Regions from separate parts of the Homo sapiens genome. Here all the other regions are linked to region 1. The links are contacts of gene promoters, found by promoter capture Hi-C in blood cells and fetal thymus (Javierre and others, 2016). All regions are on one chromosome and are shown on one strand. The core of a region is centred on a gene start or on the middle of the fragment in contact, and the rest is flanking DNA. Distances in the headings are between cores, read along the strand shown. Region 1 holds the start of SLC19A1 (solute carrier family 19 member 1). Region 2 holds the start of UBE2G2 (ubiquitin conjugating enzyme E2 G2). Region 3 holds the start of SUMO3 (small ubiquitin like modifier 3).

Region 1 (4,066 bases), core at 926-3,425:
CCCTGCCATCCCTGACGCTCAGGCACTTAACTATTTGACAAACCGATAATGAAACACGCAAGGACGGGGACCGCTGGAGGCTCGTGAGGGCCCAAGCACAGGATCCATTCCCAGATGCCAGTGTCACTCCCAAGTCACCTGCGTTTGTAAATCTCTATTTTGGGTGGAGCCCTCTGGAAGCCCACGCCCCACTGTCTGTGGCCACTCCTCGCAGTCCTCAATGGAGGTTTCTGTAAGTTCTTCACGAGTCTCCTGGCTCTTCCCTCAGAGCAGCTGCCTCTAGATTACAACTGCCAAGTGCTGTTGGTGGCAGAAGCCCTACCTCCCCACTCCGAAGCAGCTCCTGCAGGAAACCTGGGCCTTGTGTGGCTGGGGAACTCCCAGGACTCCTGCCACGCAGGGGGACCCGAGGGCAGCTTGGGCAGGCCCCTCGCGGCCGGGGGCGGATTCGCTCGGCTACACCTGACCGGAGAGACAGGTGAGGGACTGGTCTTTGTGGGTCCTGCGGGGTCCCCTTGGGGCTGTGGCTCCCTGCCTTGCTGTCTCCAGGCGGGAAGGGGGTGGGAGCCATCCTTCTGTGGGAAGGGGTCTAGGAGCCCCGCTGCTGTTCATCCCCACTTCCCCTCGGCTTCCTGGCCTGTCCTGCGTGTAAAGGGAGCAGGCTGCCCTGGCGAGCTGGCCCCATGGCTGGCTCCTCTCTGCCTGGAGGGAAGGAAGGGCCCCTCCTCCTCCGCGTTGCCCCTCCTGTCTTCCAGCAGGGCCAGGTTCTGCCCACCCGTGGAGAAGGCCAGTACAGGGGAGAGAGCCAGGGCTCCCACAAAGCAGGGGGTCCCTCCAGGTGAGGCGCTCCATCCTGTAGTGTTCCCTTAAATTCTGCAAGCTACCCCAGATCCCCCATTTCCAGCCAACAAATCCTTTTTAAGTTCCTTTGAGATTTGTTCGTGTGGCTTGCTACACTCAGGACTCTGGAAAGAAGGCCCAGGCCAGAGCTTTGGGCAGGCGGCCATTTAGGGCAAGGGCCCTGTGTTGGCTTCCTGGTGGGGTTGCCCTGCTGGTGGGCGGGAGACCAAGAGCACCCCCGCAACACCAGGAGGCAGGTCGCGGATTGTGCTGTCTACACTCCGGAAGGGGTACATTCCAGGGGCTGCTGCCCCAGACTCACCCCTCGCCTGGGACCCGCACTCTTGAGCTGTGGGTACCACGGTGGCCGTCCCCTTCTGTTCTGTGCAGTGGACTTCCTGGCTCCTCCTTAGCCTTGGGGCCCCCACAGCCCTCGGCTTGGCTTCCCTCCCCATAGCCAGGCCCTGGGTAACTCCAGGGGAAAGTGACCCTGAGGCCCCCCACTTCTCCCCGTGTCCTGCACAGGCCTTGGGCTTTCGGCGGTGCTGTCTGCCGCAGCCCCACGCCTTCCTGGGAGAGTGGCCCAGGCCCCCCTTCCTGAGTGTGACTGCGCTGCCGTCTGCGAGGCCTGCGCGGGTCTCCCCCGGGCTGTCCCTGCTGGGATGGGGACTGGTGGCCCCGGGCCACGTCCTGGATCCGGCTTGCTCCTTGGTACAAGCCCGTACGGGTCACGGTCAGGCAGGAGGGCGGGCGGCGGGGTCCCGGGGGCGCCGAGTTCGGGGCCGTGCGGTCCCCAAGAGCAGGCTGTGCGTGTCCCTGTTGGAGCCCCACGAAGGCGGCCCAGGGCCACCCCTGAGGGCGCGTGGGCCCGACCCGCGTCCCGGATCCAGCTTGCGGCCAGGAATGCAGGTGTTCCAGGGTGCCAAAAGGAAAACGCACAAGGCCTCGTCGAGGAGGGGGGGTCAGGAGGGGACCGGGGGTGGGAAGAACGCGGGGGAGAGGGATGGCAGGGTGCCCGCCCGAGGGACCGACACCTCCGCGAGTGGCACCCCAGGATGCTGACGCCGGCGGGGGTGGGGGCCCGAGGGGCGGTCGGGGTCAGGGGGCGGCCCCAGGGGTAGGGCCGCAGCACGAGGGGCCGCGTGACCCCGGCGGTGACCGGGTGGGGAGAGGCCGGCGCCGGGGCTGGGAGACGGCCGTGGGTGGGAGGGTGCCCCGTGGGGACGCTCCTGCCGCAGCGCCCGGCCACGCGCGAGGCCCCGCCCTCAGGACGCGTTCGGCGGGACGGACCCGCCCACCCCGCAGCCGCGCGCCCGCCGCGCCGCCTTGTGGGCGCTGTAGTCCCGGAGTCCGCGTGCGCGGGGCCGGGTCCGGGAGCCCCAGGGCAGCCGCCCCGCCGAGTCGCAGGTACCGGTGGGGAACGGGGCCACGGGGCCGCGTGTCGGGGGCTGCGGGGTGTCTCGGGGCCCTGGGGTGAGTGCGGGGCGCGGGCCGAGGTTTGCAGGGCCCTGTGAGGTGAGTGTGGGGGCTGGCGCTGGGGTCCGCGGGGCCCTGGGGAGGGTGCGGGGCGTGGGCCGGGGTCTGCGGTCTGCAGCCTGGGGTCCGCGGGGCCCTGGGGAGGGTGCGGGGCGTGGGCCGGGGTCTGCGGTCTGCAGCCTGGGGTCTGGGGGGCCCTGGGGAGGGTGCGGGGCGTGGCCGGGGTCTGCGGTCTGCAGCCTGGGGTCTGGGGGGCCCTGGGGAGGGTGCGGGGCGTGGGCCGGGGTCTCCGCGGGGGTCGCGGTGGCCCGGGCGCCTGGCAGAACCGTTGCTGTGCAGCGGGTTTCCCGCCGCTCGCTTTCCGCCGCAGCCTGCGAATGGGGTGGGGAGTCCCGGCCCCCAGCCTGCCCTCCGCGTCATCCTGGGGCGCCAAGTCCCACCCCCGGGTCTGGAGGAAAGCGTGGATCCGGCGTTCGCGCCCAGGCACGTGTTGCTTCGGGACGGGCCAGCCGGTGGGTGAACCCTGCCAGCCACGCGTGGGGCGGGCCCCTGGCACATCTCCAGACCATTGTCTCCTGTGCCAGAAGCTTTGTAGGTGCAACTTCCCCTTGGAGCAGCTGTGGGTGCGGATCCAGCGGAGCAATCCCGAGGCGTCTCAGAGAGAGCCTGGACAGCCGCTGGAGCCTTTCCCGAGTGGGTCCTTCCAACACCGCTACAGCAGGAAAGCCATCCCCCTAGGGTCCTGTCCATCGGAAACTCCTGTCCTGGGGAGTCTGGCCTGCCTGGCCTCAGGACACAGGCCAACTAAGCTGGCCCCGAAATCCAGAATGCATCCAGAGGGAAGGTGGGATAAAGTCCTTGGAGGCGCCTGTTGGCCGCCCTGTAAAGAGGTGGCCTCCCCCTACGGAGACCCGAGGATCCCCGCACAGCCCAGATTCAATCAGCAGAGCCGAGGTGCCTCTGGCCCAGTGCACCTGCCTGCCCTGTCCAGGCCTGGGAGCCAGGCTGCATCTCACTGGCCGCCTTTGCCTGGGTGCCACCTGTGCACTGCTTGTTGCAATTGCTAATTGCTTTCTTTCCGAAGGGGCTTTGGTGGATTTTTATAATTCCAGATAGTACAGTTATCTCTGCTGGACACAGATGAGAAAGAGTGCTTCTCGGGTGTTTGGGCCTGCAGCAGTGATAGCCGGAGGGTCTAATTATGCTGTTAGGAACCCTGAACTTGGTCATCTGAACAGGGGTGGGAGGGTGTGCAATGCTTTCTTCTTCTTCTTTTTAAACTAGCAGGCGTTCTAAAAAACATAACGAACATTCTTGGTTAGCCTTCCAGAGTAGGAGCTGGTTTAAACACGGAATGATAGGTGGCGTTTGCTTGTGTTTTGATTGCGGGTCTCTGGCCTTCTCTGGTGCTTGGAAGGACAGGGCCTGGGTGGGGCTGGTCACTGTGGACAGTGGGGCCGGGGATTTGCAGGGGCTGTTACAACCTTCTCCTGAAGGCAGGGATTCTCTCTGCTTCCCCGTGGCCCTCCTGTCTGGTCGGGGACTTCCTTCAGATGCCGGGAAGAGGCCTCAAGCTGTATGGGACTGGGCTGGGGTCTGGACACTTGGAGTCTAGGCGTCCCCTGGCTTGGGGCTGCGTTTCTATGATGGTGACCAAGTTCCCTATCTTTCCTCTTGGAGGTGGTCTGGGCCGTGATGGCCAAGCCTCTGTCAGTGGGCTACGTTCACGGCACATAAGTTGAGTATGCTG
Region 2 (4,066 bases), core at 953-3,452, 740 kb after region 1:
CAGAGTCCCTGGGACTCCACTACCACTTGATCCAAGTTGAGAGTTCCACGAGTTAGCCAGTTAAAACATAGGATGCCCAGCTAAGCTTGAATTCCACATAAGGTACTGAACGACGTCCCTGAAATGTTGCAGAGAGCCTGGTTCTCTGAAGATAAGGTGTTGTAACAGTCCTGTTGAGGGGAGAGACTGCCATCTTGTTTCAGCAACTCATATTTCAAGTGACTTTTGTCACTTGAAGCTGAAGCTAATCCTGATAGAAGCTGTAAACCACATTTCTGAAAAATAATAATTGGAAAACATACAGTGTTCTGCAGTAAGATGTCTGAAAAAGATGGATAAAATTATGAAAACATCAAGCATATGTTGCAGTGAACATCACGGCATTGACAGTAATGCTTTATTGCCCACATCTCCCATAACTGGAAAAGGGGAGCTGCTCTCCTTTAGGAGCACTGGACAGACTGCCTTGGGGTGTGGGGTGCTGTCTGATTAGAGAGAGAGCAGCTCTTGAATGGGGGAGGAAACACCTCCACTGTGACTTTTTGCACATTGCATTTGCACAAATTACTCTCTGAAACAGTCTCAAAGGACCATGTCATTTTATAAAGCACTGTGGTCATTTGAAAAGATGGAGGTAGACTGAAATTTTGAATTTTGGGGAATTTTCCTACACTATGCATACTTGTGAAGTTTGTATTGTTAAATTTCATTTGATTTGACAAATCCGTGTTAAGAGTATACGATGTCCAGGTACAGAGGCTGCCCCAGAAACAAGACAGAAGTAGGCAGGGACCCATGGCTCTCATGGAACACGCTTTTGGTTAGAGGCAACAGATAAGGGTAATACATTTATAGCATGCCAGTAAGTTCTATAGTACGGTGTGTTGAGTAGGTGTTGCAGAGAAAAAGGTATGCGGTGAAGGCCGGGTGGTGACGGCCTAGGCCACACTGAAGAGGCAACATTTGAGCAAAGACTGAAAGAGCAGGTGGGAAGAGTCGGGGACAAGAGCCGCCAGAAAGTGTTTCCGGGGAGGGAAGAGTCAGGGACTCTGAACCAGGCCAGGGCAGCTGGAGTGGAGTGAGAGGGAGGGAGGGTCTGGGAGTATGGCGGGGTGACCGGAGGCAGAGCAAAGCACTGCAGGACTTCAGCTTTACTGAGTGAAATGGGCGGAGCAGAGTGTGAATGTGATCAGACTTCTTTTCAAGGGATCATCTGCAATGCTGGAAAGGAAAAGACAAATGATAGATTATTGCAACAAACAGCCAGGCAAGAGATGCAAACTTTTTTTGCAAAGGTGTGTGTGTATATACATCCTTGCACCGGACAGCCACGAAGCACCTACTGTGCTGTGAAGTCAGTAAGGATGTGGGTTAAAATCGCTCACCTCACAGCGGGTCAATCGGGAAAGCACACCCACTCACTACAGCCATTATGGGAAAAAGGGCTCGCCCCTTACAGGATCCTCAACTGTGGAGAGGCCGGGAGCCCACGCGGGGCGCTGGGGAGTCTCTCAGCACCCCAGGGGTTCGGGCAGGGACCTGAGCCGCGCCCTCTCTCCCGGGGGTGCCCTGGGGTCGAGGCTGCTCGGCAGAGCCGGCGGTCAGTTCGAGCCGCGGGCCCGAACAGGGCTCTCCCCGCGGCTCTCTCCCTCGGAGTAGAAGGTGCTGGACCCGAACTCCAGCGGAGCCGCACAACACGTGGAGGAAAAGCGCCAGGACAGCTAACCTTCCCACCTTTTCAAACCTGAAACCCGGCCGGCTGGGGACGGTTGGAATGTTCAGTGCGTACCCGCACCTCAGGCCCCTTGTCTCCAGCCCCAGACCGCCCCGCGACCATCCTCCCCACCCCCCGACCTCTTATCTCGTCCCCGCCCTGTCTCCCCAACCTCCATCCTCCCCTCCACAACCCCCGTCCTCCCGCCCTTCGGCCACGCGCGGCTGGCACAGAACAGGCAGTTAGCGCACACACACTGGAACAGGCGCCACCGTTCAGGAAGTCTCTACAAGACCAGGACCCTGAGGCCTCTGGAAGTGCCGGGACCGAACCAACCCCGCAGAGCGACTAAGGCGAGGGCAGGAGCCAAGAGAATCGTAGCCGCGGTCGCGGGTTGAGCTCCCACCACCCGGACAGCGCGCCTCGGCGATCGCGCACGCGCCACGCCCCGGAAGAGTTCCTGGGCCCGCGACGGTGGCCCGGAAGCAGTCCCCGGTGTCGGGGCAGGAGGCACGCGCGCGGCTGAGGCGAGGTCGCTCGGCGCAGCTGTTGCGGGGCCATGGCGGGGACCGCGCTCAAGAGGCTGATGGCCGAGTACAAACGTGAGTCTGGGGACCCGGGCCGTCAGCAGCGTCCCGCGTTCCTGCTCCCGGGCCCGCGTCGTCCGGCGGGGCTGGGGCAGGGAGCCTGGCGGGGGAGCCGGGCCCGGGGCCTCCACCGTGAGCCCCCCTGTGGGTCCCGCGGAGTGCCGCGCCCTGCGCCCGCTGCCCACTCTCACGCGTGAAGTCGTGAAGAGAAGCCTTCCCAGCATCAGTAAAGGCAGCGCCGGCGCCGTGTTAGTTGAGAGCACACACAGTTGAGTCTTTGCGGGCTTGTTTTTTTCTCTTCTATTTTTTCTTTTCTTGGCAGCCTTGAGAACGTGCAGTGAGAGCTTGAGGAAGAAGGCCTGACTTGCTGCTGCGGAATTAGGAGGGAAAAGTGTATGCGTTAAAAGGGGAAAGGCTCGTTGGTGGAGCTTTGAAAGGTCAGATTTTGGCTTTCCCTCTAATGAAGGAAAAGGGTTTTTGAACAGTGCCACCTGTCACTCCTCCTAGGTAGTGTTGAGGAAACCTCTTGAGTGCTTTCCTACCCGGTAAATTAGATATTTCTAATGTCTGAGGAGAGCGAAGGGAGAAATGAGAACCTAGGAACACTCGGCATTCCATCGTTTTACACCGAATGCCCGCTTGGAAGAACTGCTGCGAGAAGTCTTGGAATACCATTGTGTTGAAAGCGCCAGGAGCCTGAGTCGCCGATGGAGACGAGATAGTAGCCGGCTAAGAGCAGGGCCTGAGTTCAGACCCGGCCTCTCTGCTTGTTAGCTCTTTGACCTTGTTCCTCTCTCTGTCTCTGCAGTTTCCTTGTCTTAAAAGGTTAAACTTGATACTGCAGGTGAAGTGCTTAGCAAAATACCTGATGTGTAACCCTTAATAAAGTTAGCTGCTGCTTTTGTAATTAGATTGAGGATAATTTTGGAAGAAAGTTAAGCTAAAAGAATGAATGTGAGAAAAAAAATAAGTGGTGAATATACATGTAGCTTGATTTCGTAAAACTATTGGTGACACCGCCCAGTAAGAGTTGATGTTTGGCTTAAGCAGACCAAAACGTTGCAAATACAGGCTCACTCACGTATGGTCATTCTTCCCTTGGTATCTGGAGGGGATTGGTTCCAGGCCCCGCTGCAGATACCAGAATCCTCGGATGCTCAAGTCCCTACTATAAGGTGGCGTGGTATTTGCATTTAATGTATGCATAGCCTCTCATAACTTTTAAATCATCTCAAGGTTACTTATAGTACCTAATGCAATGTAAGTGCTGCACAAATAGTTACACTGATTTTTTTTACTTGTATTTTTAAATCGTCATTTTTTATTGTTATTTTTTTCAAATATTTTGTATTCCTGGTTGGTCGAATCCATGGATATGCAGCCGCAGATACACAGGGCCTCCTGTAAACGTTCAAATAACGCTCGCCACCTAGTGTCTGCTAAAGCAGAACATAAAGGCACACCTCAGTTTCCCGCGCGCTTTGCTTTATTGAGCTTCACTTCGCAGATCTTGCATTTTTTACAAGTTTACAAGTTTTTTACAAGCAACCCTGCATGGAAGCAAGTCTGTTGGCACCATTTTTGCTCGCTTCGTGTCTCTCTCTTACATTTTAATCTATTACTGTGATCTATGATCAGTAATCTTTGATGTTACTATTGTAATTATTTTGGGGCATCACAAACTATGCCCATAAAAGATGGTAGTCCTAATAAATGTTGTGTGTGCTTCACTGACTGGCTGTTTCCCCATCTCTCTCCCGGCCTC
Region 3 (4,066 bases), core at 632-3,131, 720 kb after region 1:
TCCCCTTTGGCTGTGTCCTTCAGAAACCTCTTGGCGTTCGGTCCACCAGCGGTGTCCTTTGTGTCCCCACAGCTGCGACAGAGCCTTTTTGCATCTTTGCTGTCACATGAAGGATTCGGGGCAGGTCACAGTGTGGGAGACAGACACAGCATGAATTGAATTCAGACCACCATTGTCTTATAGCCTGGCTTTTTAAAACCTAATGTCATCTGAGCCTCTTTTTCCCTTATCCATGACTGTAGTCACGCATCACTTCGTGACACAGCAACTGGCGTAATTTCGAGCGGTAACACATTTGGGTTCTGTGTCTCATGATTTCTAAGCTGCGTGTTTCTCACTTCCACAACACTGAAGCGGGCTGCCGTCATCCACAGCCTGCCGGAGTTTAGTGTGTCTGTGCTACCTACGGTCGTGTTGTTTTATGATTAACGGTGTCTTGGAGTCGATAACTCTCTGAACCCTGCCTGCCCTAGGGCACTTCCAGGGCCAGCAATCTGTGGGCTCTGAGGCGCCACGTCCCCTCGGAAGGGGCTGGTTGCGGAGCCCCCTCCCAGGACCGTCTGAGCTGGCCACCCACCTCCACATCCTCTGCTGAGGCCCTGGGCTCCAGGTTCCAGAAGGAAGGGACCACACCTTATGACCTGCCTGGGACTGGGGCTGACTCTCAGACCCTCTCCCCGAAAGACTTCAGCAGCCTTCCCCCTCCTAAGTGGGGGCTCTAGCCAAGAAAGTGAATTTTTGAGTAGAAGACGGTTTGTGAAGTTATGGTCCATGAAGACTTGTCTCCATGGCTTTGCGACGTTGCTCAGTTGGCTGAGCCTTTCCCAGGCAGGACAGAAACGGCTCAGACGCTTAGGTTCAAATCCAGGCCCTGCCATTTCCCAGCTGAGCCTGAAGTGCGGCCTCCCCCGCCTTCGGCCGGGCTCACCATCAGATGAGACCTCCGCCACGCCCCGGCTGGCACCACCCGGGCACTCCTGAGGGACGCAGGGGTGTCCGCCCTCAGGTCCGTTCCATCCGAGGCCCTGGGATCACAGACATGGAGGCCGGGGCGGGCCAGGCACCCCAGGAATGGCGCCCGCAAGTCCGGGGAGGCCGTCCTGCCGGCCCAGCGCGTTTCCCGCGTCCACGAGGTCCCCGTTCCGCCGGCACTGGCGGCGTCCAGCCTGGGTTTGCCCGCGCTCGCCGACGTGGCGGCCTGGCCAAGCTCGGCGCCGCTCACCAGCGCTGACCTGGGGGTGGTTTGACCTCCCAGTGCCTCAGTTTCTTCACAGGTAAAACGGGTCTTCTTGAGGACGGGTGTGGAGGGCCCGGGGCAGCCCCGTAGGAGCGTTGGCCAAAGGAGCCCGGCCTGGGGCTGACAGGAAACCGCGGCGGCAGGGAGGCGGGTGGCGCCCCCAATCGTCTAGGGTGCTGGCCCGATTCGCGCGGCCCCCGCGGACGGGACCCCGCGGGCCGCCTTCTCCGCTCTGTCCGCGGCTCCTGAGAGGGAACGTCACCCCCAGCGTCCTCCCTCCTCCGCCCCAGGTCCCTGCGGCCATGGGCGGCGGCCCCGGCCTCACTTCCCGGCGCCCCAGGAACGCGGCCCCCAGGAAAGGAGTCGGGGCCCGGGCGACGCGGGGAGGCGGGCAAGGGTCCCCAGGGCCCGGGCTCCCCGTAAACGCTCCTGGCCCGCGCCCCACAGCGCCCTAGGGCTTCCGCGCCCGACGGGGTCGCGCGGGACCCGCCCCGTGACGCATCTCCAACCGCCCAGAGCCGCGGCCCGGCCTGCGCGCGCCCGACGCCCCGGGGAGCGCGCCTCGTGAACGCGCGCAGCCACGTGACCCCCGTGCCGGCCAACGGGTGCGCCGGGATTTGGGGGATAAAGCGCGGCCCCGCGCACAGTTGCGGCGGGAGAGCGGCGGGGCCGAGAGCGTGACTCGCCCGCTCCGCGCTGCTTCCCCCGCGCCGCCTCCCCGCGCCGCTCGCGCAGCCATGTCCGAGGAGAAGCCCAAGGTAAGCGCGGCGACCCCGCCTGCACGCGCGTCTATCGCGGGCGTCCCGCCCCCAGCCCGGCTCCGCCCCCACCCCGACTCCGCCCCGCGTCCCGCCCCTGACAGGCTCCGCCCCTCCCCGCCCTCTAGAGCCCCGCCCCTAAGTGGGCCCGCCCAAGGTGCGCCCCCTCTGCCCCCGCGAAGCGCGCTGTGCCGCGAGCTCCGCCCCCTCCGGGCCTGGCCACGCCTCCGCTCCACGCCCGTCTCCTCCCCAGCTGGGAAGGCGCGCGCCCAGCGCCTCCTTGAGCGCCCGGTGTCGGGCCCCGCGCTGCTGCTCCTGCAGAGCGCGGCGCCCTCGGATCCCGCCCCAGCAGTGTCCCCGAAGCGTCTTTGCGTGCTCCTCTCCTGAGTCATTGCTGGTTGGGGTCGCCCTCTCCCCCGGCATCGCCCTGGGTGCGGGATCCTGTGTCGAGTGCACGGAGTCGGCTCGGGAACAAGCGTCTGGGGTTACCCCCAAGGGGCGCGCTCTGAGGGGCCTGGCCCCTGTGAGCAGCACTGCCGTCCTTCCAGGGCGCCCATCGCGACCCCGGTATTCACCCACTTCTCCGCATCGTGTCCCGGCCATCGCGTCCCCCAGTGTGCGCCCACCCCTCTCCTTCGTGTCTCCCCAATCGTGCCCTCAGTGTGCACCTACTCCCACCCATCGCGCCCCGTGTGCACCCACCGCCTCCATCGCGTCCCCCGGTGTGCGCCCACCCCTCCCCATCGCGCCCCCCGGTGTACGCCCACGCCTCCCCATCACGCCCCCCATGGTGTGTACCCACTCCTCCCCATCATGCCACCTGGTGTGCGCCCACCCGTCCCCATCATCGCGTCCCTGGTGTGCGCCCACCCCTCCCTATTGCGTCGCCCTCTCCATCACACCCCCAGTGTGTGCTCACCCCTCCCCGTCGCGTCCCCCAGTGTGCGCCCACCCCTATCCATCGCGTCCCCCTTTCCATCACACCCCCAGTGTGCGTCCACCCCTCCCCATCACCCCCTCCACGATGTGCGCCCACCCCTCCCCATCACGCCCCCTATAGTGTGTGCCCACCCCTCCCTATCACGCCCCACGGTGTGCGCCCACTTCTCTGCATTGCGCCTCCCCCACCATGCGCGCCCACCCCTCCTTATCCAGCCTTGGGTGGGCTTTAGTCTCCCCCATTGCCATGCTGGGGTGTGCCTCCCTCCAGTCTCAGTCCTGGGGTATGCACCCTGCATTCAGGTGCACTGGCCATTCCTTCTCGGGAGGGTCTGTAGTCGCATTCTCCAGTGTTCATAAAAAGAGAACCTTTCCGAAGCCCTTGGTGTGCACTGTCGGCCTCTATGTTACATCCCAGTGGAAGATGACTAGAGCTGAAGGCTCTGTAAAGAGGCTGTCTCTGATACTGGCCTGGTCCTGGAGGTGACCACCCTCCCTTTACAGATGAGGGTGGAGGCTCAGTGCCAGACACTGGCGGGAAGTGGGATGGAACCGTCAGGAACCATGGTCGCGGCCTCTATGGAAGTCTGCACTCTGCTTGCTGTGGTCAGACTCCAGGGAAACCTGCCCTATCCAGATGGCATTTGGGGTGACCTTTGCTTTTTACATTTTGACTCCAGTGAAGTCAAAGTTCTCCCACTCTGGGGTTGTTTGAATATTTAAATACTTGTTAAAACTAGGTCAAATATAAATGTCCTTTATGTTTTTGTAGGTGGCTTCCTCTTAATGAAGAGTAAATGTAATAAAATACATATGATATTAATTTTCTCAGCAGTATTTACACTTAGCTCTGCCATGTGGTCAATCTCAGGCTCCAGTTCCGTTGAAAACACTTGTTTAATTCCAGAATGACTGAGTGGCTGCCACCTCACAGGCCCCGCTTCTGGTGGGTCCCCTCTGAGCCCATGTGGGAGCAGCTCTGCCCTCTGGGGCTCTGACGAAGGGGAAGAGGTGGACTCTGGGGCCCGGTGGTGCTGGAAAGAAGAGCTTTTAGGTCAGGCAGGAGAATGGTTCTGACTTCCCTGGATAGCTGAGGTGGAGGATTGACTGTAGCAAACTGAGGCCCATGTTT

What was found. The method cuts DNA at HindIII sites, captures the fragments that hold promoters and counts their contacts. A CHiCAGO score of 5 or more calls a contact.
Region 2: a contact is called between the fragment with the promoter of UBE2G2 here and the fragment with the promoter of SLC19A1 in region 1, in 8 of 17 cell types (fetal thymus, total B cells, M0 macrophages and 5 more). The highest score is 9.0, in fetal thymus.
Region 3: a contact is called between the fragment with the promoter of SUMO3 here and the fragment with the promoter of SLC19A1 in region 1, in 4 of 17 cell types (neutrophils, monocytes, activated CD4 T cells and 1 more). The highest score is 7.9, in neutrophils.

Annotation. Positions count from the first base shown.
Region 1 is chr21:45,540,549-45,544,614 of GRCh38, reverse strand. SLC19A1 (solute carrier family 19 member 1) reads left to right here and starts at 2,175. Exons shown (of 6, transcript NM_194255.4): 1 at 2,175-2,247. RefSeq lists silencers at 1,902-1,981, 2,022-2,331, 2,682-2,741 and an enhancer at 1,535-2,047. The HindIII fragment of the contact is 3,738 bases long and covers 1-2,905 here.
Region 2 is chr21:44,799,956-44,804,021 of GRCh38, reverse strand. It overlaps UBE2G2 (ubiquitin conjugating enzyme E2 G2), which reads left to right and starts at 2,202. Exons shown (of 6, transcript NM_003343.6): 1 at 2,202-2,316. The coding sequence starts at 2,274. It overlaps LINC01424 (long intergenic non-protein coding RNA 1424), which reads right to left and starts at 1,781. Exons shown (of 2, transcript NR_109928.1): 1 at 1,386-1,781; 2 at 1-275. RefSeq lists silencers at 1,584-1,633, 2,134-2,353, 2,414-2,473 and an enhancer at 2,021-2,976. The HindIII fragment of the contact is 6,659 bases long and covers 88-4,066 here.
Region 3 is chr21:44,815,877-44,819,942 of GRCh38, reverse strand. SUMO3 (small ubiquitin like modifier 3) reads left to right here and starts at 1,881. Exons shown (of 4, transcript NM_006936.3): 1 at 1,881-1,995. The coding sequence starts at 1,975. RefSeq lists silencers at 1,270-1,369, 1,390-1,969, 2,150-2,349 and an enhancer at 4,029-4,066. The HindIII fragment of the contact is 14,551 bases long and covers 1-4,066 here.